Regions from separate parts of the Homo sapiens genome. Here all the other regions are linked to region 1. Evidence: promoter capture Hi-C in 16 types of primary human blood cells and fetal thymus (Javierre and others, 2016). All regions are on one chromosome and are shown on one strand. Each heading gives the region's core, a stretch centred on a gene start or on the middle of the fragment in contact. The rest is flanking DNA. Distances are from core to core; before and after follow the strand shown.

Region 1 (2,935 bases), core at 1-2,500:
ACTCGCTGACATCCTGCAGCACAATCACCCGGTTGTGGGCCTCCTTCAGGTTGGAAGTGAACATGGATCGGAAGAAGCAGCTCTGAGCTGAGAGGACCAGCCGATGGAGCTGAAACTCCCGGCCTTCCACCGAAATGGTGACATCAGCAAAGAGCTCCTCCTCTAGACACAGTTTCATGATGCCTTGAGCCACACGGCCTGAATGTGACCGATCTTTGAAAGTGTAGTTCACAAAGTAGTTCTCATCCATGGATGCTCCAGGCTCCTCTGGTGATTCCATGCTAGCCAACTTCTCTCTCTGCCAGCTGTCTGCAAAGCAACACCATCTTGAGTAACCTGAGGAATTCACAGCCATAGTCTGTGAATCCAACTGTCCAACTCAGGGAGGGAAAAGGAAGAAGTGAGAGCAAAGTGGGTCCAGATTGGCCTTAGTCCTGGCCCTGTCCATGATGTCCCTGACGCTATCCTTTAACCAAATCTGGGTTCGTTATCCCCAGTGGCGCCCCTCCGCTAATGATATAAATAAAAGTTCCAACTCTGGGTGTTTTCCTGAGAAAACACGGAATAATTCCTTTCCATAATGTTAACAAAAGACTTGGGATTTAGGTCAATATATGAAAGCAAAGGGCTGGGAGAGGCCTGTGATCGTAAAAGCCTTACTAACCAAATAACTGGGGCATAAAACTAGTGAAGCTCAGGGGCAGTAGAATCAGACAAAAAGGACCCCTGGCCCCGGCCTAGTGGCCAGGTCCTCTCCTTCCCAGCGCATGGAGTTAAGACGCTCCATATGAAGCCTAGCCTGGGATATCCGTGGGTCTTACATTTGCTCTCTTCTGAGCTGCTTCCCCCACACTTCCCCGCTCGCTCGAAAGACTCCCTATGGCTGCGTCCCAGAACTTGAGTCCATCCGCCCCCAGGCCGGGGCACTGGGAGGCCCATCACCCTGTGCAATGTCCCCGCTCCACCTTGAGTCGTCTTGGAAACGGTCGCCAGGGAAACCGTTCTTCCCGCTCAGGCCCGCCCGCCCTCGTCAAAAGCTTGGCTCAGAGAGCGGGGGAGGGGTGTGTAGCGTAGAACCCAAAACGCCCGCCCCCTCCCCTCCTCTCACCCGCCTGGTTCTTCAGCGTCCTCGCCTTCTCTCTAGGCTCTGCCACAAGGAGCTAGGACCACGCTCACCTCACGATTTCCCTACCTGCCTGTCTCGCTTTCTCACCTGCGTTCCCTCCTTTCATCCCGGAGCCCGGAACCTCCGCTTCCGGCTCCACGTCCGCCCGGAAGAAGATCTGCTGCACACTTCCGTTTCCGGTCCGTGCCCTTGGGGCTCCGTGTCCTGCTGTCTTTCCGTCCGCTGCCTAGTCTGCATCTGAGTAACATGGCGGCGGCGGCGGTAGCCAGGCTGTGGTGGCGCGGGATCTTGGGGGCCTCGGCGCTGACCAGGGGTGAGCACGGGCAGCCAGCTGAGACCGGGGTCAGGCGCAGCGGCGTGCCCAGTGCAGAGAGCTCCTCAGGGCTCATCCCGCGCGTCTGTGCCTTTTATCTCCCTGTGCAGGGACTGGGCGACCCTCCGTTCTGTTGCTGCCGGTGAGGCGGGAGAGCGCCGGGGCCGACACGCGCCGTGAGTATGTGCGGGCAGCGCTCTTCTCTGAACTATCGGCGGGGCCCCTTAGATGCCTGTCCTTGCCCTAGGATGCCCTTCCCTACGTCCTCCTGGCAAATCTTGGAGATCTGACTTGCAGTGGTCTTCACCCTGCATGCAGAATCGAGCCCTCCCTGTGCCCTTAGGCCTGTTATGGCCCTGATTGTTCCTTGTCCATTTCAATCATCCCCTTTTTGTCTGATTAAACTGTCAGCTCTTTGAAAGCAAGCAATATAACCTTTAGGCCTCAGAGCCCTGTAATAATAGTACCTAGCGTTAATTGAGTGCTTAATGTGTGCCTGGAACCTCGCTAAGCGTTTTAGTGAATGATCTTATTTCGTCCTCACAACAGCCTTATGGGGTAGATAGCATCTTACTCTTCTTACTATAGATCAGGAAACAGTCCAAAGAATTAAACTGCCCAGGGTCAAAGACCTAGTGAATGACAAAGTAGGCCTGCCTGCTGCCAGAGGCAGAAACACCTAACCATTATTCTGTAGCTTGTGATGTGTGATTGCTCAGTGGTTTAGGGTTGCATGAATGAGTATGTACATATTATGTTACAGTCAAGATACACGGACTGGGAGTTAGGAGACCTGGCATTTCTCCTTTCCTGGGTTTTCTCATTGACACACACACACACACACACACACACACACACACACACACACACACCTGGGCCTCAGTTTTCTCATTGACACACACACACACACACACTTTTAAGGAGAGAGAGAGTCTGTGAGGGATCTTCAAGCCCTGAAGTTCTTAGCTTGAGAACCTGGTATAAACTTGCGTGCTAAGGAGCTACAGAGAGGCAAAAGTTCAGTTCCCATCCTCAAACAGCTCTTAGTCTGACAGGAGAACTGAGACTACTGCTTTAGCAGAAATGCAGGCAATGTGAGGGAAGAACTGTGGAGTAATTTTGAGAAGAGGTGAACACCCCAGCTGCTATAGTAAGAGTCTTTCTGAGGACCGTGTAGTTAAGGTGGCACTTTCCCCAAGTTTTCATCACTGTATTCCCTAGAAGGGAAACCTTTCACATGCACCTTTCTCAAGGTGCTTCAGGGAGCCTTTCCTGGATTTGACATCCCTTACAAGCCTAAGAGACTGCATGCAGGGCTGGCTTTTGCCTTCTCCATTTCTTTTTTAAATATGCCTTTTCCTTCCAGCCACTGTCAGACCACGGAATGATGTGGCCCACAAGCAGCTCTCAGCTTTTGGAGAGTATGTGGCTGAAATCTTGCCCAAGTATGTCCAACAAGTTCAGGTAATACTTACTAATGTTATTTGGGTCTGGGT
Region 2 (2,935 bases), core at 152-2,651, 300 kb before region 1:
GTCTATGTGGTAGTTTTACATCAAGCTGAATGTAGATTGTTGAAACAGAATAATTAAGTTTCCATCTAGACCTAGAAGTGCAGGTTAGTGCTAGCTAGTTGAGGAGTCTGGTTTGATCCTGATCCACCCTGGAGGGATCCTGAGAGTGACTTCAATTTTTGTTACAATGACTGAGTCCAGATTAGATGGCCTAGGTCTGTTTTTCAGAAACAGAGCCCCAGGCGTTAAGCTGGAAATTAAGTCATTGGTAGGGATAGGTAGGTGAACCATTATTTATCTACATTTTTTTTTTTTTCTTGAGACGGAGTCTCACTCTGTCACCCAGGCTCGAGTGCAGTGGTGCGATCTCAGCTCACCACAGCCTCCACCTCCTGGGTTCAAGCGATTCTCATGCCTCAGACTCCCGAGTAGCTGGGATTACAGATGTGTGCCACCACACCCGGCTAATTTTTTTGTATTTTTAGTAGAGATGGGGTTTTGCCATGTTGGCCAGCTGGTCTCAAACTCCTGACCTCAGGTGATCCGCCTCGGCCTCCCAGAGTTCTGGGATTACAGGCGTGAGCCACCATGCCTGGCCTATCTATTTTTTAACATTCGATTCTGTGAGCTCATGAGCCTAGACACGAGGCTAGGCAAGCGTCAAGTTCTCCTATCATTAGTATGAAAGTGGAAGACCTTCTGACCTCTGCCTCTGGCCGGGAAGAAGTTGAGAGGGATGAGTCCCTTAGGCACAGCAGTGGATCTTATCAGTACTTTTTTTCCTATTAGACTTCGATTTTCAGAATTCCTCCTGGGAATGCTGACTCCTTGCTTGGTGCCCTGATGCTTCTCTGAGATAAACTGATGAATTGGAACCATGGTGCAAAAGAAGAAGTTCTGTCCTCGGTTACTTGACTATCTAGTGATCGTAGGGGCCAGGTAACCAAGAAGAGATTGACTTTTGTCTTAATATCTGGGATAGCCATAAAATCTGCAGTTGTTCCCTTCTCCGATTTCCATGTTGCTTTGCATAGCTCATCTTCTCCTGTTATTTTACCCTGATGGGAGCATCGAAGCCAGTAGGGAAAAAACAAAATCAGGTGGATTGAAAGCAAAACCCTGCTCTTAACTAACATCTTCTTGATGTCGAGCAAATATACTCTTTATACCTCAGTTTTCTTATTTTGTAAAAAGAAAAAGTACATTATAAGCTACTCCTCTATGTATACTTTTTTGGTAATTTATTAGTTAATTCACTTTAAAAGATGTTAATCATCTTAAGGTGCCAGTGATAATTTTATTGTCAAAATCTCCCCTTCGTTTCAGAATAGATGCCTTCATGACAGTGTAGACTTCACTTAGGTTACCAGCTCCATGCGGCAGGCAGCACCCATATTTTCCAAGGTGTTACAGTCAGGTTACTTTATCCAAAATAGCATCTTGAGCTTTATTTGTTGACTGTGGTTAAAATTTGATAGCCCATTCCATCCCTTCAGGCTGCTGAATTTGTCTTTATGTTCTTCAGGCACCCGAGCAGTGATAGCGTGGCCCAGACTCCTGAATTGCTACGGCGATACCCCTTGGAGGATCACACTGAGTTTCCCCTGCCCCCAGATGTAGTGTTCTTCTGCCAGCCCGAGGGCTGCCTGAGCGTGCGGCAGCGGCGCATGAGCCTTCGGGATGATACCTCTTTTGTCTTCACCCTCACTGACAAGGACACTGGAGTCACGCGATATGGCATCTGTGTTAACTTCTACCGCTCCTTCCAAAAGCGAATCTCTAAGGAGAAGGGGGAAGGTGGGGCAGGGTCCCGTGGGAAGGAAGGAACCCATGCCACCTGTGCCTCAGAAGAGGGTGGCACTGAGAGCTCAGAGAGTGGCTCATCCCTGCAGCCTCTCAGTGCTGACTCTACCCCTGATGTGAACCAGTCTCCTCGGGGCAAACGCCGGGCCAAGGCGGGGAGCCGCTCCCGCAACAGTACTCTCACGTCCCTGTGCGTGCTCAGCCACTACCCTTTCTTCTCCACCTTCCGAGAGTGTTTGTATACTCTCAAGCGCCTGGTGGACTGCTGTAGTGAGCGCCTTCTGGGCAAGAAACTGGGCATCCCTCGAGGCGTACAAAGGTACAGTTTGCTGCTGATGCCTAATGGGGGAAGCATTTAGAGATTCCATGTAATTGGTCTTTGAGGGGCATAGGAAATTTCCTCTACAGCTCAAGGTCCTTCAGACCTATTAAGCATATTTAGAGTATTTAGAGTTAATCTTTTTTCTTTTGGAGACAGTCTCGCTCTGTTGCCCAGGCTGGAGTACAGTGGTGCGATCTCGGCTCACTGCAACCCCTGCCTCCTGGGTTCAAGTGATCCTTCTGCCTCAGCCTCCCGAGTAGCTGGGATTACAGGTGCACGCCACCATGACCAGCTAATTTTGGTATTTTTGTAGAGACAAGGTTTCGCCATGTTGGCCAGGCTGGTCTCAAACTCCTCACCTCAGGTGGTCCACCCACGTTGGCCTCCCAAAGTGCTGGGATTATAGGCGTGAGCATCATCCCCAGCCAAGAGTTAATCTTTACTAAGCAAAAGACTGCTGCAGAGTTAGACCTCTTTCCAAAATTGTGTTTGGAGTAATGCTGGAATTTGGTGTTTTAACTGTGGTTAGGACAGTAAGTCTTACCCAGTATATATCTTTACATTTGCTTTTGCCATTGTATATACTTTCCGGTCCTATCTGAGCTCAGAGACTGGGCTTTCTTAATGATGCTCCGTTTCCCATTGTCATCATTAGAGCCTCTGTGGTGATACTGAGTTGCAGTAGGGTATCAGCTTCTGATGCTAATGTGTCTGATTCCTGCTGTCTGCTTCTCAGGGACACCATGTGGCGGATCTTTACTGGATCGCTGCTGGTAGAGGAGAAGTCAAGTGCCCTTCTGCATGACCTTCGAGAGATTGAGGCCTGGATCT
Region 3 (2,935 bases), core at 314-2,813, 280 kb before region 1:
TAATACTTTTTTATGGTGGCAGGGAGCTCTAACAGCTTGGTATTTCTGGGGCCCATCCCTGGGGACTGTCTCTTACTACCTTTTTTCCTTTCCAGGTGAGTAATAGCTCTGGAGAGACCCTTGGAGCTGACAGTGACTTGAGCAGCAATGCAGGTGATGGACCAGGTGGCGAGGGCAGTGTTCACCTGGCAAGCTCTCGGGGCACTTTGTCTGATAGTGAAATTGAGACCAACTCTGCCACAAGCACCATCTTTGTAAGCTTTGTTTATTAACAAAAGAAAACCATTTCTTTAATGGGGGAGGGAAGCAGGCAAGAAAAGAATGAAAGTTAAGAGACGCTAAAGAGGTAAAGGTTAAATAAGGAAGAGGTAATCTTCTTATATTTGGCTTTAAGGAAAACATTTCTTAAGGCTTTGTTCAGAGTCATTTGACTCACAATCTGGGGCTTTTAGAACCCTCTCCTGAATCATTGATGAGTTAGGCTCCGTGCCCAGTCACGTAAGGGCTTTGAATCCTATGTAGTATTAACCCCCAGGTTTAACACAGGCAAAGTAATACCTTTGTGGCAATGTCAGGACAATTACAGCTCTCGTTTAGTACCAGTCTGCCTATTTCTATGGACTATCCAGTTTTATTTTGGTCACTGCTCTATTTATAAATAAAATAGCATTTTATTTTAGTATATTCCTAACAGTTATTTGAAGTTTTCATTCATTAATAAACATCCATGAAGTGATTTACTAAGTGCCAGATTTTGTGCTAAAGAAACAGGGATGAAAAAGGCATGGTTTCTACTCAAGAAGTTTGTGATTCACTATATTGCTGTGAGTAGTCTCTTCTAATAGGTGAGGGGAACAATGCCTTAGGAAAAAAGAACTTCCCTAGATCACACAGTAAGCCCATGATCAGCTGGAAGGAGATGAATTCTTTTTAGTCCTTGCCGTAGACATCTGTTTTTTGTTGTTTTTTTTTTTTTTTTTTTTTACACAGGGTCTCACTCTGTTGCCCAGGCTGGAGTGTAGTGGCACAGTCACTGCTCAACTGCTCACTGCAGCTTTGACCTGTTAGGCTCAAGTGATCCTCCCACCTCAGCCTCCCAAGTAGCTGGGACTGCAGGCATACACCACCATGCCTGGCTAATTTTTTAGTTTTTTGTAGAGATGGGGTTTCCCTCTGTTGTCTAGGCCAGTCTCAAACTCCTGGGTTAAGTGAGCCTCCTGCCTTGGCCTCTTAAAGTGGCATGAGCCACTGTGCCCAGCCTCTGCTTTTTAATGTGTATGTGCCTCTATAGGCTGTGTTAAAACACTGATAGACTTGTTACTTTATTAAACAGAGATGAGAATGGATGTTCTCTACAAGAGCTTATACGCATAGGTCCTTATCTTTAAGGCCTATGGGGAGAAAGGAAGATAAAAGTTAAATGAAACCAACTATTTAAAACTGGTTATCATTCCCACCCCCAGAGCCTTCTGTATGTGTGTTTTTAATAGAGTCAGTGACCTCCCAGAGTGGAGATTGGGAATAGGACTGAGAGGCTACTCAAGTTAATGGGCCTTAACTCTCTCTCAGTCTGAACAGACTGATTGGCTGATTGAGTGATTGATTTTTCTTTTGTGCTGACAGTTTATTAGGGGTTTTCTTTTCTTTTCTTTTTTTTTTTTTTGAGATGGAGTCTCGCTGTGTCACCCAGGCTGGAGTGCAGTGGTGCGATCTCGGCTCACGGCAAGCTCCGCCTCCTGGGTTCACACTCTTCTCTTGCCTCAGCCTCCCAAGTAGCTGGGACTACGGGTGCCCGCCACCACGCCCAGCTAATTTTTTGTATTTTTAGTGGAGATGGGGTTTCACCATGTTAGCCAGGACGGTCTTGATCTCCTGACTTCGTGATCTGCTCGCCTTGGCCTACCAAAGTGCTGGGATTACAGGCGTGAGCCACTGCTCCCGGCCAAGGGTTTTCAATAATGTTTTCTTTTCTTTTCTTTCTTTCTTTCTTTTTTTTTTTTTTTTTGAGATAGAATCTTGCTCTGTCGCCCAGGCTGGAGTGCAGTGGCGCGATCTCTGCTCACTGCAATCTCCACCTCCCAGGTTCACACCATTCTCCTTCCTCAGCCTCCCGAGTAGCTGGGACTACAGGCGCCCACCACCATGCCCGGCTAATTTTTTGTATTTTTAGGAGAGATGGGGTTTCACCGTGTTAGCCAGGATGGTATCAATCTCCTGACCTTGTGATCTGCCCACCTCGGCCTCCCAAAATGCTGGGATTACAGGCATGAGCCACCGCGCCCGGCCTTCTTTACATATTAGTTCAACCTTCACCACAAAATCTAACCATGGATCGTAAAAATTAAATTGGCAACGGGGCTAGCCTGCTATACTTCCTGTTTACTTTTAGATGCTTTTCAAACCAATAAGGATGACATTTGTGGTGGAAGGAGCCAGAGTAATAGGAAAATTACTTCTCTTCGCTTAGAAGAAAATCCTCCACCTTGAGCATCTTCTGAACTTTTTACTATAAGACATCTCAGTGCTTGCTTGTACTCTTCAGCCGCATAACTGTGAAGATAGCAACCATCAGTTTCTCATAAATGGAAGCGGCAGTGAGAACCGTCTACAGCAGTTTGGCTTCAAGGCCTGTGTAGAGGCCCATTATTCCAAAACACCTGTTAGCCATTTGTATGTCTTCTTTTGAGAGAGATCTATTCAGCTCATTTGCCCATTTTTAAATAGATTATTTGTGTTTTTTTGCTGTTGAGTTTTTTCTTTCTTGTATATTCTGGCTATTAATCCCTTGTCAGATGAATAGTTTGTAAATATTTTCTCCCATTCTGCAGACTGTCTCTTCACTCATTTCATCGTGTCCTTTGTTGTGTAGAAGCTTTTTAGTTTAATATAATCCTGTTTTTGCTTTTGCTTTTGTTGCCTGTACTTTTGAGGTCTC
Region 4 (2,935 bases), core at 189-2,688, 270 kb before region 1:
CTCTCTTGTTGCCCAGACTGGAGTGCAATGGCGCAATTTTGGCTCACTGCAACCTCTGCCTCCCGAGTTCAAGCAGTTTTCCTGCTTCAGCCTCCCGAGTAGCTGAAGCTCCTGAGGTTACAGGCATGCACCACCACGCCCAGCTAATTTTTGTATTTTCAGTAGAGATGGGCATTCCCCATGTTGGCCAGGCTGATCTTGAACTCCTGACCTCAAGTGATCTGCCTGCCTTAGCTCCCAAAGTTCTGGGATTACGGGTGTGAACCACCGCACCTGGCTTACACTCTTAGTTTTTTAAAAATGCCAGTTGTGCTTGTAAATGTCCTTGAAGAAGCAGTGAAGACTGTTACTCTTATTAGATTGATTAATTATAAATGTTTTTAATATTCTTTGTGACAAAATGGGAAGTACACATAAAGCATCTCTGTTGCAAACCCAGTATGATGGTTGTTTTGAAGAAAAGCAATTTGCAGCCTTGATTTGTTCACCTTGAGTTGCAAGTGAACTTAATCGCTTTGTTCATTGAACATCATTTTTACTGGAAAGGACAATTAATAAACCATGGTTATTCAGAGTACCCAACTGGCAGACATTTTCCTTCAGTTAATCAAGTGAGCCTGTTGTTTCAGGGAAAACAACTGACAGTATTTGTTGCCAATGATAAGATTCAGCTTTTAAGTGAAAATAAGAATTTTGGCAGAGTTTTGAACTTGAAGCTTCCCAATATTTAAAGACTTTTCTAATGAGATTGGTGGTGATATTAATGAATGTGATTTTTTAAACATTGATTTAATATTACAAAATATGTCAACATTTGGAAGAGCTGTGTAACTCAGTGAAACACTATTTTCTTTCTTTTTTTTTTTTTGGAGACGGAGTCTCGCTCTGTGGCCCAGGCTGGAGTGCAGTGGCAGGATGCTGGCTCACTGCTACCTCCGCCTCCTGGGCTCCTGGGTTCAAGCAATTCTCCTGCCTCAGCCTCCTGAGCAGCTGGGAGTACAGGCGTATGCTGCCACACCTGGCTAGTTTTTTTTTTTTTTTGTATTTTAATAGAGACGGGGTTTCACCATCTTGCCCAGGCTGTGGTCTTGAACTCCTGAGTTTAGTCAATCCGCCCACCTTGGCCTTCCAAAGTTCTAGGATTACAGGCACCCAGCCAACAGTATTTTCTAAATACCAATGTATGATGTTGTAAATTCAAGTATGGATAAAAGATCTACTCAAAATGCAAGGCAGAGATATGGATCTTAATTTTTAAATAACATTTTTTTTCAGTCTGGGGAACATAGACCCCATTTCTTTTTGTTTGTTTGTTTGTTTTTGAGACGGAGTCTCACTCTGTCACCCGGGCTGGAGTGCAGCGGCGCGATCTCGGCTCACTACAACCTCCGCCTCCCAGGTTCAAGCTATTCTCCTGCCTCAGCCTCATGAGTAGCTGGGATTACAGGTGCCCGCCACAACGCCCGGCTAATTTTTATGTTTTTAGTAGAGATGGGGTTTCACCACGCTGGTCAGGCTGGTCTCCAACTCCTGACCTTTTGATCCGCCCACCTCGGCCTCCCAAAGTGCTGGGATTACAGGTGTGAGCCACCGCGCCCAGCCAAGGGAGACCCCATTTCTACAAAAAATAAAAAAATTAGCTAGGCATGGTGGCATGCACCTGTAGTCCCAGCTACTTGGGAGGCTGAGGTGGGAGGATCACTTGAGCTCAGGAGGTTGAGGCTGCCGTGAGCACCACTGCACTCCAGCCTGGGTGACAGAATGAGACCCTGTCTCAAAAAAAAAAAAAAAGTGTATGGAGAATAGGGTCTCACTTTGTTGCCCAGGCTGGTCTCCAACTCCTGCCTGGGCTCAAACGGTACTCCTGACTTGGCCTCCCAAAGTGTTGGGATTATAGGAATGAGCCACCATGTCTGGCCTAAATGGATTTTAATGTAACAATGTAAAATGTTCATTGATGTGCTTTCAGATTCCACACTGCAACTAACTTTCAAAAGCTGCTTTTGCTGGGTGTTGTGGTTTATGCCTGTAATTCCAGGTACTTGGGAGGCTGAGGCAGGAGTGTCACTTAAGCCCAGGAGTTCAGAGCTGTGGTGGGCTATGGTCATGCCACTGCACTCCAGCCTGGATGACAGAGCGAAACCTTGTCTCTAAAAAAAAAGAAGCTTCTGCTTCCCAAGTTCTGGTGTAGTGTTAAAGAAGAATACGTCTATTTATCTGAAAAGGCTATGAAAATCCTCTTCCATTTTCCAAATACGTATCTCTGAGGTCAAGTTTTTTTCATATACCTCAACCAAAGCAACATACTGCAACAGACTCAATGCAGAGGCAGATAGGAGAATGCAACTATTTGATTCTAAGCCAAACATTAAAGAGATTTGCAAAAATGTGAAACAGTGCCTTTTTTTTGAAAATATAGTTATTTTATTAAAAATGTTTATATTACTATGTAATGGGTTATATTAATCATTAATTGTTTTTATAATTAATCATTTGAGAAATTTCTGTTTAAATTTCTAGTATGTAAATATCTATAAATATAACTCACATAAACAAAAGCTCTTTGGAATCTTCAATAAATTTTAAGAGATATAGGGCCTCTGAGACCAAAACATCTGAAACCACTTCCCTGGTGACCAGTGGCCAGCAGATGAGACTGTGCTGAGGAAGCCGATATGAATTTGATTGCTGGATGGGGAATTCTTGGCCCAGAGCCCTCTGAGAGGGATGTATGACTGTCCCTAAAAAATCTCTCTTTCATCAGAATGGACGCGATCTCTCTATCTGGTCCAGTGGCAGCCGGCACATGAAGAAGCAGACATTTGTGGTACATGCAGGGACAGATACAAACGGAGATATCTTTTTCATGGAGGTAGGTGCTGGTTCATGCTGGGGGCCCAAAGGGCTATTGAGAGTCACAGGGAACTCATAGGAC

The links. Contacts are between HindIII fragments. The CHiCAGO score rates a contact against its expected background, and 5 or more counts as called.
Region 2: a fragment that was not itself captured here is called in contact with the fragment with the promoter of KBTBD4 in region 1 in 2 of 17 cell types (neutrophils and monocytes); the score reaches 6.0 in neutrophils.
Region 3: a fragment that was not itself captured here is called in contact with the fragment with the promoter of KBTBD4 in region 1 in 1 of 17 cell types (M2 macrophages); the score reaches 5.8 in M2 macrophages.
Region 4: a fragment that was not itself captured here is called in contact with the fragment with the promoter of KBTBD4 in region 1 in 1 of 17 cell types (monocytes); the score reaches 5.4 in monocytes.

The regions. Positions count from the first base shown.
Region 1 is chr11:47,577,720-47,580,654 of GRCh38, forward strand. It overlaps KBTBD4 (kelch repeat and BTB domain containing 4), which reads right to left and starts at 1,251. Exons shown (of 4, transcript NM_018095.6): 1 at 1,214-1,251; 2 at 1-309. The coding sequence starts at 1,232. It overlaps NDUFS3 (NADH:ubiquinone oxidoreductase core subunit S3), which reads left to right and starts at 1,355. Exons shown (of 7, transcript NM_004551.3): 1 at 1,355-1,439; 2 at 1,550-1,615; 3 at 2,806-2,903. The coding sequence starts at 1,373. RefSeq lists enhancers at 810-1,469, 1,162-1,401, 1,470-2,128 and a silencer at 2,870-2,935. The HindIII fragment of the contact is 1,977 bases long and covers 1,036-2,935 here.
Region 2 is chr11:47,273,059-47,275,993 of GRCh38, forward strand. MADD (MAP kinase activating death domain) reads left to right here. Exons shown (of 37, transcript NM_001376571.1): 2 at 769-918; 3 at 1,505-2,101; 4 at 2,841-2,935. The coding sequence starts at 857. Among named protein-coding and RNA genes, the nearest start is that of MADD-AS1, 2.4 kb to the left of the region's middle. The HindIII fragment of the contact is 3,506 bases long and covers 1-2,935 here.
Region 3 is chr11:47,295,802-47,298,736 of GRCh38, forward strand. It overlaps MADD (MAP kinase activating death domain), which reads left to right. Exons shown (of 37, transcript NM_001376571.1): 24 at 96-254. Among named protein-coding and RNA genes, the nearest start is that of MADD-AS1, 25 kb to the left of the region's middle. The HindIII fragment of the contact is 2,613 bases long and covers 258-2,870 here.
Region 4 is chr11:47,312,456-47,315,390 of GRCh38, forward strand. It overlaps MADD (MAP kinase activating death domain), which reads left to right. Exons shown (of 37, transcript NM_001376571.1): 30 at 2,765-2,872. Among named protein-coding and RNA genes, the nearest start is that of MYBPC3, 39 kb to the right of the region's middle. The HindIII fragment of the contact is 1,449 bases long and covers 715-2,163 here.